Regions from separate parts of the Homo sapiens genome. Here region 2 is linked to region 1. Evidence: promoter capture Hi-C in 16 types of primary human blood cells and fetal thymus (Javierre and others, 2016). All regions are on one chromosome and are shown on one strand. The core of a region is centred on a gene start or on the middle of the fragment in contact, and the rest is flanking DNA. Distances in the headings are between cores, read along the strand shown. Region 1 holds the start of CCDC154 (coiled-coil domain containing 154). Region 2 overlaps JPT2 (Jupiter microtubule associated homolog 2).

Region 1 (3,680 bases), core at 1-2,500:
GGGAAGGCAGGTCTTCCCCTAGCACATGGGGACCCCGGCCTCGAGGGTGACCTCCCTACCCCGCCCCTGCCAGCCACCAAGCGCAGGTGCAGCGGGGGCCAGACTCCTGCCGGCCTCAGAGGACACCTGGCCCAGCACAGGCAGCTAGAAGGGCCGGTGGGCACCGGGGCCGGGAAGCCCCCACCTCACCACCTGAGGGCCCCTGGGAGGCTCCTCTGGCCTGGCTGGGCTGGGTCTGGGGCCGCCACAGGCCCCTCACGGGGCGGCAGAGGCAACTTCAGTGTCCCTGTTAGAGCAACACGGGTCCCTCCGTGGGGGGCTGGGTGCGGCCCCCTGCCGTGTATTTCCTCCCCAGGGAGTGGGGCCTCCCCGGGAGCTGACGCCACCACCCTGCTTAGCCCTCACAGGGCCCCAAGGTGTCCGAGTGTGTTGGGTCTGAACGCGAAATAAAGAAATCCTCTCAGCCCGCCTTTGCCAGCGTCGTCCCTCCCACCCCACCCAGACCACGTCCAACAGCCTGGGACTTTCGGGACCCTGGGGTCGGGGCACCGTGTGGAGTGAGAAAGGCGTGAAAGACAGCGGCTGCGGCCACCCAGGGCACCAGCCACATCCTCTTCCTCGTCCCCGCCCCTCAGCCTCCCTCCTCTGGCTCCTGGCTGGTGGGTCTGGGGGCAAGGCAGAGGCGCTCCAGGTGGAGGGGGGCGGGCCGGGGTGCCCACGCTGGGGTGACGCAAGAAGAAAACTCCCGGGCCTCAGAGTCGGCGCCGGAAACCTAGGTCTGGGTTTCCCTCGTGGTGGTTGTGTACTGAGGACCTGGAAGTGATCATATTTTGGATATATTCGGTTAAATAAAATCAGCGGTTAGGATTCACATCGCTGCTTCTTGCCTTTTAATGGGGCTGCTGAGCAAGATGGGTTCCCGTGGAGCCCGGCTGTGCCCCTCACCCCGATGGCGCTGCCCAGGCCTCGGGCTCCGCTCGGACGTGGGCCTGGCTGTGTCCGGGGTGTCCTGGGGCTCTCGGCCTCCCTGCTCCCAGCGTCCCTCCCGGCGTGCCCAGGCCTCGTCAGGGCCTCCTTCCCCTCCCTCGGCAGCTGAAGAAGTCCCCTTTGCCAGAGGACACGTGTCTGCGCCCTCTCGGGAGTGGGGCCCCTCAGATCCATCCAGAAGCAGGCAGTTGGGGGGCCCTGCGGGAGTGGGAGAGCTGAGGGCTAGAGTTCCATTGGCAGTTGGGCTGTGAAGCCGTGAGGTTCTGGGGAGAGAAGGAAGGTTCTGGAACGGCCCCGCTGCCCCACACCTGCCTCCCTGGGGACCCTGAGAAGGCAGCCAGACGAGGGCAGCAGCTCGTCCCTCAAGGCCCAGAGCTCTCACGGGACTTCCTCTGGCTCCTGACCCCCCTGGCCTGTGCCCAGCTCTGGGCAACCTCAGAGGCCCCAAGGCCCAAGCTACAGCCGAGGGCAGGGTGGCCGGTGCAGCCCAGCAGCCATGTCAGGTGACCAGAGCGGAGGAGCGGGGCCCAGGGAGGGGCTTGCCACAGGTGTGAGGGTGGGGACCGCTCTGCTTCTGACCCCGGGCTCCCTCCAGCTCGCTTGTTCCTGCCGCCCAGTGCTGTGTGTCTTCAGGCAGGGCCCTGGACTTGTCTGAGCCAAGCCCGTCTGGATCCTGTGTGACCCAAGGAGACGCGTTGAGCTCTGGGTGGTGGGCGAGGGTCCTGCGGGGGTTTGGGGCCTTGTTCCCGTAAGCTCCAGTGGGGGCCGGGCCCCAAGGGGCAAGCTCCCAAGATGCCTCCTTGTAGAGTTGGCTGACAGTGGACCCTCAGGGGCATCGGCCCCTTCCCAGCTGAGAGCCGTCACCCTGGAAGACCTGGGGCTCCTCCTGGCAGGAGGCCTGGCCAGCCCCGAGCCCTTGAGCCTGGAGGAGCTCTCGGAGAGGTATGAGTCCAGCCATCCGACATCCACGGCCTCTGTCCCCGAGCAGGACACCGCCAAGCACTGGAACCAGCTGGAGCAGTGGTGAGCCCTGCAGGGGGTGCTGGCGGGGGAGGACCACGTCGCCGCCGCCTCCGCCTCCACGGCGGGCACCGCCAGACTCGCCCACTCTCGCCCCGGCCAGGGTGGTGGAGCTGCAGGCCGAGGTGGCCTGCCTGCGGGAGCACAAGCAGCGCTGTGAGCGCGCCACGCGGAGCCTGCTGCGGGAGCTGCTCCAGGTGCGGGCCCGCGTGCAGCTGCAGGGCTCAGAGCTGAGGCAGTTGCAGCAGGAGGCGCGGCCGGCAGCCCAGGCCCCCGAAAAGGAGGCGCCGGAGGTGAGCGGCTCCCCCACCCACAGGTCGAGCTGCCCCTTTCCTGGGTGTTGGGGGCAGCTGCTTCTGGGCCTGGAGCCCAGCTCACCCCTGCTGCCCAGGCCCAGAGCTCCCAGGGGCCAGTGGTGCCGGAGCTGGGTGGACTCCAGGGGCAGGTGCCAGACCCGGGCCTAGGTCCAGCCCACAGCCTCCTCTTCCTCCTCGCAGTTCTCTGGTCTCCAGAACCAGATGCAGGCCCTGGACAAAAGGTACCCCCCACACACCTAGGGGCACAGGCCCAGGGCGGGGAGGTGGTGGCGAGAAAGCAGCGGCAGGTGTGGTGGGGGGTCCACATCTCCCGCTGGGTGTCGCTGGAGTGGGGGATACACATCCAGGTCCAGCTAGAAAAGGCCGGGTTTGTACGTGCCTGGGCGGCCTTCAGAGGCCCAGGAAAGCCATGGGAGGTGGCCACAGGGGCCCCTTGGCCAGACCCCCAGCCCGCCGAGGCTGCTCAGCCCGCCTGGGCCTCTCGGGAATGGCTTGTTGTGTCCCAGGCTGGTGGAGGTCCGGGAAGCCTTGACCCGGCTCAGGAGGAGGCAGGTGCAACAGGAGGCGGAGAGAAGGGGCGCCGAGCAAGAGGCCGGCCTCAGGTGGGCGCCCACCGCCCGTGGCTGGCTCCGGAGCTTGCGTGGGGTCATTTGAGAGTCCCTGGCTGAGCCAAGACACGGGTCCCCCTGCCGTGTGTCCCCAGTAACCCGGCGGGGCACCGCCCTCGGTGCCAAGCGTGCTGGGAAGCCTGGGCCCGCTGCGGACCCTCTGTGGGGAAGAGACTCGCAGCAGCCCTTCCCTGCCACCGGTGCTGTGTTTCCCATTCCTCTGTTTTCTGGTGGGGCAGGGGGCGGGGGTCGTACACCTCCTGCCTGGCCAGCCTGTGGGTCAGCCTCACCCTGCTGGGCCCTCCGGCCAGCTGGGCTGGTGTGACCACAGCCGACTTCTCTAGACTGGCCAAGCTGACCGACTTGCTGCAGCAGGAGGAGCAGGGCCGGGAGGTGGCCTGCGGCGCCCTGCAGAAGAACCAAGAGGACAGCAGCCGGAGGGTGGACCTGGAGGTGGCCAGAATGCAGGTACCACCAGGCCCAGGCTTCAGGGGGGCCGCCCAGAGGGCCGAGGAGGAGACCCTAACCCTCTCGGCCTGTGCCATCCGATACAGCGGCCGTTCACCATGTATCTGTGTCCACTGAAATCAGCTATAGTTGTAGACAATGTAAAACTCAATTCCTCAGCCGCACATGCCCCATTTCAAAAGTTCAGGTTGTTTGGGCACGGTGGCTCACGCCTGTAATCCCAGCACTTTGGGAGGCTGAGGCGGGCAGATCACAAGGTCAGGAGTTCAAGACCAGCCTG
Region 2 (3,351 bases), core at 544-3,043, 260 kb before region 1:
TAAGCAGCCAGCACGGGAGGAGGCATCTACACACTCACAGGGTGTGACCTACCAGGTACACCACAAAGATCATATGGCAAAGTTACCTGACATCAAAAGAGCCTGTGTATTCCTGGACAAGGCACGGGGCTCGAGGTGGCAACCCTTCGGGGTCTGTTATTCACACCCTCACCCTGTACCAGGTGGCACCCGCGTCCTTCTAGACTTGGCCACTGCCAGGCCTCTGGAGACGGAGGAGCTGTGACTCCCAGAGGTTCCCATGCTTGCTGGTGGCCTTGGCAGCTGCTAGAAATAGGAAACTTAGCGTGTCATTTCCTAGCCTGGTTCTTGGAACTCGCTCTATACCCTGTGGATGAACAAGTGAAGACGGTGTTTCAGTTAATGCATGTTGGTTTTCTTTCTCAAGCGTTGACTTTCATCTCATCTGGCCCCGATCTAGCAGGCAGAATGGTGTGGAGCCTCCTAGAGAGGAACTCTCAGGCTCACAGTCTGAGAAGTTTACCCTGAATCCACATAATGCCTGTAAGGATATTAAGTATGTTAGAAAACATATGAAAATAGCTAATACATCAGAAGAAAGACATCCAATCTGTTTTTTATTTTATTTTTTTACACAGGGTCTTGCTCTGTGGTCCAGGCTGAAGTGCAGTGGCATGATCATCACTCACTACAGCCACAACCTCCTGGTCTCAAGTGATCCTCCTGCCTCACTCAGCCTCCCGAGTAGCTGGGACTACAGGCATGCACCACCACATCCGGCTAATTTAGAGAAGTTTTTTTTTGTATAGACAGGGTCGTAGTATGTTGTCTAGGCTGGTCTCAAACTCCTGAGCTCAAGTGATCCTCCCACCCTGGCCTCCCAAAGACCCAAAGACTACAGACCTGAGCCACCATGCCCACCTGTTTTCTTGACAGGACTTGCATATGACAAGCTCTCTGCTTCTCCTCACCTATGCATTGCAAGCCAGGTCAGAGGCAGGTTAAACACCTTAAGGACATGTTAGGACAAGTGGCATACAAGGGAAAAAAACCCGTTCATTTAAGTTACAGAAACAGAAAAAAAAAAACTGGCTTATTCCCACACTTACTCTACTCAAAGCTTTGAGAAGACTAATTTTGGCATCCTCTGGCTAAATACAAAACAACAAAACAAAACAAGGCAAACTCTTTCAGCAAGAGCTGTGGGGGAAGGGACTATAAGGGACACACACAACTGACAGGCAAAAGCTCTGAGCACGTGATTGCTAAGTTTAATTCAACTGTTACACCCCATTCTGCCTTGTAAAAATAACAAAACGCTCCTATCAAAATGACATTGTGATGTGAGTACAGGCTTTTTGTTTTGGTACAGCTCTAAAAAATGTTGGCACCGAATGCACTTAAGAAAAGTGTTAAGGCTTAATACAAATACAGAGACGAGTCATTTCTCAATGCAGCTTAGAGGGTGAGAACAGGATGCTAGGTTTTTAAATCTTCCAAATACAGGCAGTCCCCAACGTACAGACATACAGGACACCTCCCAAATGTAAACGACAGCCACACAGCAGGGCTTGCATGCGCAGGAACTCTTCTTCTCCCAGTGAGCAGACTAAGCACTCTGAATCCCACCCCACTGCCTCGCAGAGGGAAAGAAGGCAGGACAGATGCAAGAAGAGTAATGTCAGGGGCTCCATCACAGCTGCCCAGGGGCTTCTGCTGTAGTTCATATTTTCCTCATTCCCATCTCTGGTTTCTCCCATAACCCAGAAGTCCCTGCCAGGGGCGGAAGTAAAGAGCTTTTCCTCTCACCTAGCGGACTGCAAGGGCTGGGAGAATCACAGGGCCCAGTACCGTCACGTCCTATTTCTTCCTGGCAATCTGATTTGGAATTCGTGAATCATTTTCTCAATAAAAAAACAGAAGTTATAAATGGTAGTTCATTTCCACCATTAAACTGTTTCCTTTCAAGTTGCATCAATGACTTTGAAGCACAAACCACCTGAAGTGTGTGTAGAGTCACACAGAGTGTTTCTTGGCTCCAAAGTCTACAGGCAATCAAAAGGGGGAAGCTGTCTTTGGTTGACAAAGCCTTGTGCAGACCCCAGTGTGCCAGGTGTAGGAAGGGGAGCTTGGCAGGCGGCTCCTGCAGGCACTTAAGCAGTGAGGCAGCATGAGCCTGACTGAACATGGCTGCTGCTTTTCTGAAGTTTAATAATGATGATGTTTCTAGCACCAAGCATTAGCTTTGTAGGCACTCAGAGCAAAGCTGCTGCCGCCACCCAGACGTTCTCCTCTGTTAACAGATGCCCACCCAAGGGCAGCATGAGAACTGGGCCTGCAGCCCTTGAGGGGGATGGGCAGAGGCTTCTGCCTGAAGATGAAAGCACCACCACCTTTGCCATCCCATTAGCTGAGTGAGCAAAGCTCAGGGAATTGGACAGGTGTGACTTTGCTACTGAACTCCTTCATCTCCTGGCCTAAGGTCTCTAGTCTCTTCTGGAAGCTTGTTTGTGAGTTAGATCCAGAAGTTCTATAAAGCTTTGTAGAGGGTGGCCTCCACAGCTCTTCTTCCTCTTTGGTGTACCTGAACAATTGACTTTTTTCTGGAAAGGTGTCAGAAACAGACCAGAGTCAACAATCATTTATGTAAAGCTGGTATTTAAAATTTAGCTTTTTAGATATTATTAAAGAATCCAAACCTAAGAACCCAAGGTTCCCAAGCATCTCTTCTTTCCACCAACCAATTAAGGAATAAAGAAAGACACAGGAAGAATTTAAACAAGCCACTTACTCGGAAATATCTGAATAGATTTTTAAAGTCCCGCAGAGGTCAGCGGGCCTCATTTATGGGAAGAACTGTGACTTGTGAAGGGAACTGTCTACATCACTGGAGAACAACAAACGCCTAAACTTAAGGCTGATGAGAGGAAAAAAGCAAGAATTCACAAGCAAAACTGGCATGTAAAGGACCAAGACCAGCCCTGTGTGAAAGACAGGCAGATTCCAACATGAGATCAGATCAGGCCGAGGTTTCAGATGGCAGGAACTGGGCACTTCAGAGGGTCAGGGCACCAAAACAATCTTCCATGAAGTAGAAGACGGATAACTATTATTATTTGGTTTTTTGAAAGCTGCCGAGGAAAAGCAATCAAGATGTTTCAAGAAAAGACTACAGAACAATATGCTGGGGGTAAAATGAAGTGGGGATGCTGGATTTAGCAGCCGTGATCTCCAGAATGGAAGCGGTTCTGCTAAGAGGTCAATATACTGTTAGTGTTTCTGCTTACGCCTCCTCCATCCCACAGCAGCAGTGGACAGGCTGTTTTGGTTTCTTTCAGTCATTCCTAGACATCCAATCAGCTGGCGGGCTGT

The links. Contacts are between HindIII fragments. The CHiCAGO score rates a contact against its expected background, and 5 or more counts as called.
Region 2: a contact is called between a fragment that was not itself captured here and the fragment with the promoter of CCDC154 in region 1, in 1 of 17 cell types (endothelial precursors). The highest score is 5.9, in endothelial precursors.

The regions. Positions count from the first base shown.
Region 1 is chr16:1,442,126-1,445,805 of GRCh38, reverse strand. CCDC154 (coiled-coil domain containing 154) reads left to right here and starts at 1,250. Exons shown (of 17, transcript NM_001143980.3): 1 at 1,250-1,490; 2 at 1,794-2,010; 3 at 2,111-2,300; 4 at 2,505-2,545; 5 at 2,831-2,926; 6 at 3,277-3,400. The coding sequence starts at 1,484. It overlaps CLCN7 (chloride voltage-gated channel 7), which reads left to right. Exons shown (of 25, transcript NM_001287.6): 25 at 1-871. The HindIII fragment of the contact is 15,368 bases long and covers 1-3,680 here.
Region 2 is chr16:1,699,305-1,702,655 of GRCh38, reverse strand. JPT2 (Jupiter microtubule associated homolog 2) reads right to left here. Exons shown (of 5, transcript NM_144570.3): 5 at 570-3,351. Among named protein-coding and RNA genes, the nearest start is that of MAPK8IP3, 5.2 kb to the left of the region's middle. The HindIII fragment of the contact is 1,383 bases long and covers 1,102-2,484 here.